Regions from separate parts of the Homo sapiens genome. Here region 2 is linked to region 1. Evidence: promoter capture Hi-C in 16 types of primary human blood cells and fetal thymus (Javierre and others, 2016). All regions are on one chromosome and are shown on one strand. The core of a region is centred on a gene start or on the middle of the fragment in contact, and the rest is flanking DNA. Distances in the headings are between cores, read along the strand shown.

Region 1 (6,438 bases), core at 1,595-4,094:
GGCTGGGAACCAACTCACCTTTCAGCTGGGTGCAGCCAAGCTGGAGCCTCGCTGACTCAGGGGTCCCTCCTCAGTGAGCAGATGGAGAAGGTGGCCTGGAAAGGGCCCCAGGCTGCACAGCAGCCTGTTGTAGGGAAGAGGAGACGGGCCAAGGCATGGGGACACATGGACCCATTTCACAGACAGGCAGCTGAGGTGGCAGCCTCGGCAGCAAGCTGACAAGAAGACACCAGGACAGCCCTTGCGTGAGTTGCATCGAAGACAGGAGACCCGCCCACCCTCCCCTCCTTACCATCCTGCAGGACCTGAGACCACCAGCCATAGCTGGTCCCTCATCGCCTCCCCCTATCCCCAGCCCTGGCCTCTGCATTTGGGCAAAGGCTATGGAGGAAGAGGCTTTGGCTTTTTGGCCCTGGCTTCAGCCAAATCCCCCAAGCACCTCGTGGAGGAGAATGGCTGCACCTGGGAGCCACGTGGGCTCCATGGAGGCCCTAAAGAGACCAGGCCTCAGCCCCAGGTGAGGCTTAATACCCCCTCTCCAGGCAGAAAGTAACCATTTCTTTTCCAGTGGTTCTCCAGCTTAGGGTCTCCAGCCAGACTGGCCGCTTATGGGCCAGGTGTAAAGAGAGGGACAGAGGGGGCAGGGAAGTGCGAGTGTTCTCAGGCCACTGGGGCCCGTCCCCACCCACACCCAGTCATCAGCCCCAGGGACAGCCAGGCCCTCCGCAGTGCAGGGTACACCCCGATTCTGCAGCCGGGCCCCAGGGCCCAGTGCTTCCTCCAGGCTGCCCCGGGCTCCCTCCTGAGTGGCAGGCCCAGGCCCGGACTCTGGCCCCAACCCGCAGGCTCAGAGGCAGCCCTGCCTTCCACAGACCAGGCCACGAGTTGCCTGTCACTCAGCTCTTCTGCCTGGTTGGTCACACTGAAAAGAGCATCCCGTGGCTGGGAGGCATGGATATCAGCTCCAACTCGGCTCAGGAAGCAAGAGCTGGAAACCCAGGCGCAGGAGGCATCTTCAGGCCCGGCGCATGCTGTGGCAGCTGCCCCAGGTCCTCCCAAACGCCACCTGCCAAACTGGCCCTCCTCCCCATCTGGGTTTAGCAAACTCCTACTCATCCTCCAAAGCCCAGAGCGAAAGGGCTCCTCTTCCATGATGCTCCTCTTCCAAAAGCAGCCCAGGGTCTCCCCTACGGCACTCAGCACCCACCGCAGACACTGTCTGTGTCCTTGAAGCTGATCTCCCTGCCAGACGGGCAGCGGCCCTCGAGGGCATTGCAAATGGGATGCCTGACAAGAACAACCCTTGAGGATTAGGAAATAGGGGTCTGCTGGAAGCCAATGCAGGCTGGATCTGAGACCTCCTGAAGACAAAGCGCAGGGAGCTGTGCTCATGCTCACACTGGGCATGGGGTTCACACTGTCTGCTGAGGGCTGCTTCCCTGTCCTGGAGGATGGGAAGGACAGAGGGGAAAGAGGGGCTCACCCACATCCTGCTCTCTGCACAGTGCCCCCTCCAGCGCCTGTCCACACAGACCAGCCGCACTGCAGTCCCTCAGAAGCCCTAGGGTTCCACCCCATCTATGCACCCTCTCCCTGGGTTCATGCCTGCTCCCCTGGGCCCACCCCACCCATGCGCCTACTCCCCCCACAGCCCACCCATCCCCAGAACCCTCCTTGCCCACATGCCACAGCAGTATACTTTTGAAGGCAACACTGAAGGTGGGGAGTTTCTGAAATCCTCTGTGCTTCCATCTCCTCTATGGGCGCACCCCAAGAGGTTGGGAGAGCGAGGTGCTGGTGCCCAGCCCAGCACAGATAGATGAGGCCACCGTCCAGTCTACTTCGTTTTTCCAGACATCTCACACCCATAACTGGCCTGAGGAACCTCATTCCAGCTTCCAAAGAACACGGAGTGCCAAGCACCACCACACCCCAGGCTCCACACCTCCCAGAACCCTTGTGGTAGGGGAAGGAGGGGGTTACTCTGCCCCATTTACCTAAGGGAAACTGTAAGGCCTGGATGGAGAAGTGCCCCCCCTCCAGCTCACACGGCTACCAGGCCAGAGACCTTTGCCCCACCACACATGTTGGCCCACAGATGAGGCGGTGAGTCATTCAGCCACATCACAGACGGGAGATCCCCTGCCCCTTGGGAGGAGCTGGAGTCCCCACACCTGGGATCCAGTGCCAGGCTTTAGCACGGACCCCTGTGTGCCCACACCCACCCTGTCTGAACCCCCCATTAAGGGACTCGTGTTTACACACCGGTCCCTGAGTCCCCGATTTCTGAGAAAATTAATTGGCAGGGTAATTCTCACTAGAGTGTTGTTGACTTCTCCATTTGTAGCTTGCTCTTTCTGACAGTATCTGCACTGCAGAGGGAGAACCTGAAGAAGACCTCACCTGAGCTCCGAGGTGTGGATTTCTGGGCAGATTTGAGACTTTGTGGCCCCTGCTAAGGGGATATAATTGAGGGTCCCCATAAATCATGACTCGGTCTATGAGGAACCAGCACCTAGCTGCATCCCCAGCCTCTTCCTTCTTCACACCCAAGCAAAACCCCAGGTTCCAGCCCCACCTAGCAGACTGAGGGCAGGCCATGGTCCCCCCTGCTCCATTCCAGACTCCACTCTGGCTTTTCTCCTTCAGGAAACCTCCTCATAACCCTCAGGCTGGGTCCGGGGCCCAGGCCCTACAGATGTGCTGGGTGCTGGTGCTGACAGACAGGACGGCAACCGTAGCTGGACCTCACCCTGGACAGCATCGCCACAACCCCCACTGGTCCACCTGGGAGAACAGAGACCCAGAGATAGCCACACACTGTCCTCTGTGCCCCTCATTGCCCCCCAGGCCTTTGGAGGTTCTGGGGGTGGCTACTGCAGTTTAATTTGGGCCACAACCCCTAATGAGCAGCCCAACGGCATGGGGGGCAGTTTGTAGGCACCCAGAGCCTGAGCAATGTGGCAGAAAGTCCAGGGGGCCTTCCAGGGGCCTCCAAGTGACCCAGGTATCTGGCAGAGCCCAGCTGGCCCCAGGGCTCCCAGTCCCGGCCTCCTGCTCCCCGGCCCATTGGCCCTGGCTGCAGCCTCAGTTGTACCAGCTGGGGAGTCCCAGATTTCCTGTACCACCACCCCACACACTTGGTCCCCTAAAGACCTGATACTGAGCTCTTGCTAATCATCTGGCTGTCACTAAGCTGCCCCACAACCATTTTCAAAGAGTCCCTGATTTTTAAGGCCCATAAAACACTGTGAAATGGCCTTTTTCAAACATTGAGGGCATTAATGACCATGGCAAAAACAAAAACCTGTCCAGGTGGCCAGTTTTTAGTAGCTCCCAATACAAAATTGCCCCCACCACGCAGCCCCCACCTGTCCACGCCCCCTCCACTTACCCACCCCGAGGGATTCTAGCCAGGACCCCTGCGTCCTGAGAAATCCTTTCCAGGAGTAGGCTGGGGAATACCGGCCCAGAGGGGCGAGGACCGGATGGGGGCAGGGGTAGGGTTCAAGGGGCCAGGGTCCCAGGGGCTCTCCTGGAGGCTGCAGAGGAACCCAGCCTGGGTGGGGGGCTCCGACGCTCCACAGCCTGTCCTGGCCCGGCCAGGCCCGGCCCGGCCCGGCCCCCTGCCCAGTCGCGGCACTGCCCGGCCCGACCCCCAGACCTTCGGGGTGCCCAGTCCGAGCCTGGGCCGCTAGGGGCCGCGGGCCTGGCGGGCGGGGCGGGGGCCGGGGTCGGGGGTCCGGCGAGCTTTAATGCGCGCACAAAGCCTCATTTGCAGGTCAATGCCGCGGCACACTCGCCTCTCCCCTCGCCCGGCGCCCTTTGTCCGGCCGCGCCCGCTCCTCGCGCCAGATGGCCGCGGAAATGCTAATTTCGGGCGCCCCTGCCCCCCCACCCCCGCGTTTAATTGCGCCTTTGCAGATGGGCCGCGAGTGTGCGCTTCATGCAGATGAGCGCGGCCTCGCCGCCTTCCTCGGACCTCCGGGAGCCGCGGCCGGGCGTGCTGGGGCCGAGGGCAGGGAGGGGGCCGCTGTCCCTCCACTCGACGCGCCGCCGGGCACGGGCGGGCACCCAGCGGCCCGGGCCCGGGAAGCGCGCTTCTCTCTTTTCATTTCTCCAAAATGGGATCTTAAGTGATTCTGAATGAAAACAAATTGGCCCGCTTTCTTCTCCAAACAGACGCGCGGCGCGGTGGGGGCGGCGGGCGCGGGCCCGGGGCGGCCCGGGCGGTGGGGTTGGCTCCGGGACCCCCTGCCCGGCCCGGCCCTCGCGCCTTCTCCCCGCGGCCCGCCTTCCTCAGCCCTGGGCCGGCGGCACTTGGAGGCGGCCGGGCAAGACGGCAGACGTGGGGGCCCCTTTAACCGGAGCCAAGGATCCCCGGACTTTCTGACCAACCAGGAGCAGAAGCCCGCCAGGTCACCCTCGCCTTTCATGACAGAAACAGATTCCCAGGCTGGTCGGAGCGCAGAAATGAGGCAGGCCAGGGCCGGCCTCCGCCACCCCGCCCATCTCCAGCCCCAGCAGGAGCCTGGCCCAGGCCTCTGGCCCCACAGCGCCAGGGAGCATCCTCCGGGAGCCCAGGCCTGCCTCGAAGCCTAGGGCTGGGGCAGGCTGGGCAGAGTGAGGGAGGGAGGCAGTTTCTTTGTGATGTGTCCACTTTACTAGCAAAATTTCAACCACAAACTTAGAAAACCTATACATTGGTGGGTGATTCACTTGCTCCACCACCAGCGATGAAACAGAGACAGAGCCACGTTCTGGGTAAGTAAGAATACTCCCAATACAAAACTCAGCCACAGACCTTTAAAAAGAAAAGGGTGCCGGGCGCGGTGGCTCACGCCCGTAATCCCAACACTCTGGGAGGCCGAGGCGGGAGGACTGCTTGAGCGCAGGAGTTCCAGTCCAGCCTGCACAACCTGGCGAGGTCGCATCTCTACAAAAAATCTTCTGATTTTTTTAGCCAGGCGTAGCGGCGCGCCTGTAGTCCCAGGAAGGATCACTTGAGCCTGGGAGGTGGAGGCTACATAGAGCCATGACTGTGCCACTATACTCCAGCCCAGGTGACAGAGTAAGACCCTATCTCAAAAAAGAAAGAAAAAAAAGAGAAAGAGAAAGAAAGAGAGAAGAAGGAGGAGGAGGAGGAGGAGGAGGGAGGAGGGAGGAAGAAAGGAAAGAAAGAAGAAAAAGAAAGGAAGAGAAAGAAAGAAAAAGAAGAGATAAAGAAAGAAAAAAGAAAGAGAAAGAAAGAAAGAAAGAAAGAAAGAAAGAAAGAAAGAAAGAAAGAAAGAGAAAGAAAATCATCTGTTCCTGAAACATTCTGTGATACTTTCGTAATTTGCTCAGCCAGAGGACTGAAAGTGCAGGCGGATCCCTCAGCCTTGGGCTCAGCTGGGACTGAAGTCAGCTGACAGAGTGAATCTGGCCCAACTGCCACCAGTCTGACTCTGGCACCCTGGCCCTGGCGTGACCTTCACAGCCGCACCCCCCACCCCCCACCTCCGCCTCAATGCCCACCCTCCAGCTCCACATCACTGAGCCTGCCCTGCTGCGCCCTTGCACGGGCACCCTGGCTGCCAGCTCTCCTCCACCCATTCCTCCTCTGAGTGTCCTCAGGCCCCTCAGGGGCTGCTCTTCCCTGGACACCCAGGAGCCTCAACCTTTGCCCTGTGCCACACCTCCCTCACCTGGCTCTTGAAAGGAGTCCCATCCACCTTCCCCTCAGGGTGAAGCTCAGGGCCTGGCCCACACCCCTGCTGGTACTCAAGGCCCACCTGGGGGACCTAATGGGGGGTTCCAGTAGACACCGAGGCCGAGGCCGGAGGGCTCAGCCACCCTTGTCACCCATCCTGCAGGGCACTGTCTCATGGGTGCCAGCACAGTGACATGCCGTGGGCTGGGGGAAGCTGGCTCATAGAATATGCACGGCCAGGACGCACCGTGGAAATTTCCATGGTCACGGGATGGAAACCATTTCCTATCAATAAAATAACAGGTGCCCCGTCAGAATCCCCCTTTCATTTCTTTCCAGGAAACAGTTCAAATGGGATGGTTACACCCATTTGAGACAAACATCTCTTGGTCCTAACCCCTTGTGGTTGCTTCATTAACCAGAGGCCTCCATCTTCCTCTGGGGAAGACAGTGCAGCCCAGCTGCCCTCCGCCTCCAAACCCTCCCTGGGCCCTGAGGTGCCGTGTGGACCCACTGCTGCAATCGCCATGTTCACCCCACACTCGAGGGTAGACCCAGAGCATTTGAACTGTCCTCGTACTCCCTCGGCCACTTCTCAACAACAGCGCATTCCCAATCCTGTAACCTGGGGCCTTTCCCTAACACATTTAAAAGACGCCAGCCGCCTTCTCCCGCCCTAGCACTGTCACCAGCTGCTTGTACTCAACTCTCTGCCAAACTGTTACTTTGTTTATCACACTCAGATT
Region 2 (5,117 bases), core at 69-2,568, 340 kb before region 1:
GTGCGGCAGGGCAGGTCATGGAGTCTCCAGCCTTCAGCTCGCGTTAGCCCCAGGCCATCTGAGCCGTGGAGCCCACCCAGGCCCGCTGCCTGCACCCCGGGGGAGCCCTCCCACAGCGTCTCGGGCTATGACCCTGGCAGGGTTCCTGCATTCTCCTGTGTTCCCGGGCACCCGGGGCTGAGATGTTGAAATGATGTCGGATAATTCACCGGGTGCCTTCGGGGCTGGTACTCGCCGTCACTGCTCCTGAGGCCTATTTGCTGTCAAGGGGAACAAGTAGGAGGTTGTTTTCTGGGGTGCGGTGGGCTCCCCGCTCATGCAGCTCCCCGCCCCCCGCATGACCACGCCCTCTTGGGAGCTCGGGTGGGACAGCATTCAGGGGACCACATGAGCTGGGGGGGGGTCGGTGTCTTCTCTCCCCCACCCCTTCGCTAGCCTGTCCTGCTTCCCACTCCGAGTCCAAAACACGCATAGGATTCGTCCTCTCCCAGGGCCTTAGTTTCCCGGCTCTGCAGAGTGGGGGGCTGTGACTGCCTGGCCTTGGAGCTGAGGCAGAGGGGGTGGTAGGTGGCCCTGCAGAGGCAGGAGGGGACACAGGCACCCCAGGCCCTGAGTGCCTCAAGGGCAGGGACCCCAGCTCGGCACCTGTGAGGTTCCCAGCTCCGCCCGAGACAAGAATAGATAAAGCGGTAAATAAGATAAAACTCTTTTTATCTGGAGTAGATAAAAGTAAGCTTTGTCATATAATTCCTTCTGAGGCTAGCACGGTATATCAAAATATCGGAAGAATCATTTAGCCTTCAGAATATGGCAAGGCTGACAGCCAGCCTGGCCCATGGGCACCTGTCCCCACCATCTGCCTGGCCTGCGGGGGAACGTTCCTCAGCCCCTGCTGGCTCCCAACCCCCGGGCCTGGAGCCCTGTCTTCTGCCTCAGCCGCGATTCCACTGCACGGGACTTTCCCAGGCACCTCTGCCCAGGTAGTTGGGGTGGACGCCCACTTGGGTGCACACTCTGTGGGGGCTGGTCCAGGACCACCCATGTGCAGTCTTCCCTGGCCACATCCTGTATTCTCCCGCAACGCCCAGTCAAGAATCTTCCTGCTGCAGTAACTCCACATATCTGAGCCAGCTGTGTCTCCTGAGCACAGGACATGGGCAGGAGAGGCCCCTGCAGCTGGAATCCGCGCCATGAAGCCCAGGCGCGTGGTATTTGCAGCCAGTCACCAAGTTTTCAAGCCCTCACCTGCGGCCTGTGAGTGCCCACCCTGCACATGGTGCTAACCAGCATCCATCACTGCTTTCTTTTTTAATTTAATTTAATTTTTTTTTTTTTGTGGTGGAGTCTTGCTCTGTCACCCAGGCTGGAGTGCAGTGGCGCGATCTCGGCTCACTGCAACCTCCACCTCCCTGGTTCAAGCAATCCCCCTGCCTCAATCTCCTGAGTGGCTGGGATTACAGGAGCACACCACCACCCACGCCCAGTTAATTTTTTCATATTTTTAGTAGAGACGGGGTTTCACCATGTTGGCCAGACTGGTCTCGAACTCCTGTCCTCAGGCAATCCTCCCGCCTCGGCCTCCCAAAGTGCTGGGATTGCAGGTGTGAGCCGCCGCGCCCGGCCCCACCACTGCTTTCTATGCTGTGGCCGAGGTCACCAACTGCCACTGTGATGGACGGCTGTCACCCAAACAGCACGAGAATCGAAAAGCCGTGATGGCAGATGCAGAAGGCAGCGTCGCCTGTGGTCTTTTAGAAGGGCAGCTGTGAAGTGGGGTTATCTCAGCTTCCACATTGCATCACGGTGCCCCTGTGAAGGGCAGAGGAGCTGCAGGTAATTCTGTTCGCTCGCCTCTGCCTTGGAGGAAGTTTACAGTTTTTTTTTTTTTTTTTTTTGAAAGTTTAAAGCTTTCAACCTGGGCCTGGAGGCTGCAGGGTCAGCAGACCTGGGTCCTGCCCATGGCCCCCTTCCCTCCTCAGGCCTCCATTTGCTCATCTGAGAGTGGGGGGAGTGCAGCGCCTTCCGTGCAGGTCACTGAGAGGCTGGGGCAGTGGCGTGGATTCGGGTGCATGACTCGCAGACATGGCTGTCGCTTGGCTGAACGGTGGCCCCTGAGGTGTCTGTGTCCTTGTCCTGTGAACAAGTTAGGTTGTGTGGCCAAAGGGGCTTTGCAGGGTGACTGAGGGATGGCTCGTGAGAGGGGAGGTTGTCCTGGGTTACCCGGGTGAGCCCTCACTGTGATTGTGAGGATTCTTCTAAGAGAAGCAGGAGGATCTGAGTTGGAGGAAGAGACGGGAGGATGGAAGCCAGGCTCGGCGACGGGAAAGCTGCTGTGCCACCCTCACCGCAGCCCTATCCCTGCTCACGTGCACCAAGACCAGAGCCTGGCAAGTCGTCTCATACCGAGGGTCAAAGGGGCCCAGGGCCCAGCCTCCAGGGACCCCAGCCATGCCGGGTCAGGGAACCAGGCTGCAGTCCTGTGTCTCCTCCTCAGTTTACCCCAATTGTGACCTCAGAAGCCCTTGGAGCCTCAGTTTCCCTACTTGTAGCATGTGTTTGATGATAGTGTGGCAGTGATGTCACAGTCTGGCAGGGTCTCGTGGGGGTCTGTGTTACTGTCTGCAAAGCACTGGCTGGGCCAGTGGTCAGTGAGCAGGGGCGTGGGTAGCGGGCAGTGGCCTGCAGTCCCCAGGAGCACTTCCTGTTGCTGAACAGACAGCAACTTAGTGGATCCTTCCCAGGGCCCCTGGTGGGTGGTGGGTTTTGCCACATCTTTGCAGTAGACAGCACTGGCAGCTTCCGGCTTATCCAAGGCCTCAGGGTGAAGTCGACGCTCGCTGCTGATTCCCTGCTGGACGTCAGGTGACACTTCCCTCCACAGCCTGGGAAGAAGCACCTGTGGGCCACTTCTTTGTGTTGATAAGGAAACTGAGGCAGGGGAGCTGCCTGGGTCACCAGTGGGCACTGCATCTCCATGTGCAGATGGTGCCCTGGCCCTCTCTGCACGCCGTGGGCCTGGGGAGCAGGCAGGTGGCATCTTCTGCCCCGGGCAGCCCGGCTCTGCTTCCTCGTGGCTGAGCCAGGCTGTGTCTAATCTCACTTCCCTGCTCACTGCAAATCAAAACAAACAGACGTCCAGGAGGATTAAGTGTGGCAGTCATGGCGGAGGGAGCCCTGGTAGGGTGGAGAGAGCCAACAGTTGCACCAGCAAGGGGCAGAGACCCAGCCCAGCCCTGGGGGCTGCAGGGTGTGGGGACAGGGCCTGCAGCTTGGCACAAAGACTCTTCTAAGAACCTGGAGGGAACCCTGCTCCGGCAGTGGGCAGCATGCTGTGTGCAAGGTGAGCCAGTCTGAGCCCATTCCCAGTGCCCGGAATGGTGCCCAGTGCAGATGGGCACTCACCCTTCCAACCAACCTTTGCTTGTGTCCCCGTGAGATCCACAGATTCACCCTACGGAGGGCTCCCCACAGGGTTGGCCCGGAGGCTCCAGCTGTGTCTGTTGAACAAATTACTCTGCATCCACCGCGTGCTAGCGCTGTGCGGATTATAGTCCCAGAGACAGATGAGAGCAGGGGTGGTCAGTGTAGGAGCACCCAGAGGGAGCCTGGCAGGGCCTGGACATCCTGTCCAAGCTGGCCAGGAGGAGTCCTCAGAGCCAAAGCAGTGTGGAGGGTGGGGGTGCAGAGAGCGTCCCTGGCTGGAAGCACCGCGTTTGCAAATGCCAGGCAGCTTATGCAGCCAGCGCTTTGGGCAGGCGGGAGTCAGGGGGACTGAGGCCCAAGGAGGGGTAGGGCTGCATGCCAGCCTTCCAGGTGCTCCTGGGAACCACGTGGCTGATCAGACTTGTGCTTTGGGTCGAATGTCCCAGTGGGGGAGTAACCTCAGGGAGCAGAGGAAGGGTCATGGTGGTGGGGATGAAGCAGCAGCATTGGGGCTTAGAGATTAAATGAAGGAAGTCCCACGGGGCTGATCACCTACTGTGCACCAGGCTGCGTCCCGGGCATGGACTGCAGCCCACAGCCCCACTCTTGGGGTGCTCATGGTCTAGGGGGTGGACAACAGACTCTGGTCCCAGCGATGATGCTTGAGTATAAAGGACACAGTTGGGGTGTTGTGGGGGCCAGGGTCAGACATCAGAGCTGGCCTCTGCCTATGAGACAGGGCCCGCTGGCAGGACCCTCAAGCTGGGCTTTTAGGCTGGGCAGCAGCAGGTGCACGGGCCCTGAGGTGGGCCGGGCTGGGCACAGTCAGGACTGGCAACAAGGGCCGGGAGGAGCTGGGGTGATCTGGGGCCATCGTGGTGTAAATACTGGGGCACGACATGGAGGGTTCACTGACTGGCTGGGTGTGTGGGCTGGGGGCGCCGAGGGTGGAGGTGGGCACTGTGGTCAGGGGGAGATGAGGATGGATGGGCAGGGTGCAGACAGGGGCTGGCTGGGTTCGGCTCTGCAGGTAGAGCTGACCGGTGTGGCAGGGACAGGGTGTCGGTGAGGCAGGTGGCTGAGGAAATGGTAGCTGCAGGTTTTGGCCCCAGTCCCAGCAGCGGGACTATGGCTGTGGGGAGGGAGGAACCCAGGGAGGGGGCCTGAGCAGGGTCTTTGGCTGAGTGAGCCCTCAAGGGCCTTTGGGTAGGGCTACCAGAGGCCAGGAAAGGATTGTCCTGTCCACAGGAGCTTGGGGAAGGGGGTGGGGGGCCAGAGCCCCACCTTCCCCAGAAACCTCCGTGCAGCAGGAGGATGAGCCGAGGCAGGCTGTGCTGGGAGGTAGCCTGTTTGTTGTGGGCTCTGGGGGCCTGGGGAGGGTGGGCTGGGCTGTCCACATCTGGACAGGTGGAAGAGGATGGGTTCTGGGTGGGGCTGACTTCAGGAGGCTGGATGAGAGGCAATGCAGGGGGCCTTCTGGCTGTCCTGGGGTGGGTTAGAAGCCACTCAGGATGGCAGGATCTCAGGGAGCGGAGGGAGCCTGGGGCACCCTATGCCAGGCAGAGGATCTATGCCGGGGCCCCCAGGGTCTGTGTGTGGCTTTCTCTGTTTGTGTCTCCCCTGGCCCTGGGGGCCATGTGGCCATCTCCTGGCTCTCCGGTCGCTGAGGATCCACGGGGGTCCCTGGAGTCTCC

The links. The method cuts DNA at HindIII sites, captures the fragments that hold promoters and counts their contacts. A CHiCAGO score of 5 or more calls a contact.
Region 2: a contact is called between a fragment that was not itself captured here and the fragment with the promoter of KCNQ1-AS1 in region 1, in 8 of 17 cell types (neutrophils, naive CD4 T cells, erythroblasts and 5 more). The highest score is 8.2, in neutrophils.

Annotation. Positions count from the first base shown.
Region 1 is chr11:2,858,725-2,865,162 of GRCh38, forward strand. It overlaps KCNQ1-AS1 (KCNQ1 antisense RNA 1), which reads right to left and starts at 2,845. Exons shown (of 3, transcript NR_130721.1): 1 at 2,266-2,845; 2 at 19-215. RefSeq lists enhancers at 1-6, 4,235-4,932. The HindIII fragment of the contact is 10,846 bases long and covers 1-6,438 here.
Region 2 is chr11:2,521,877-2,526,993 of GRCh38, forward strand. The region is part of intron 1 of KCNQ1 (potassium voltage-gated channel subfamily Q member 1); the gene reads left to right. Among named protein-coding and RNA genes, the nearest start is that of KCNQ1, 79 kb to the left of the region's middle. The HindIII fragment of the contact is 1,173 bases long and covers 733-1,905 here.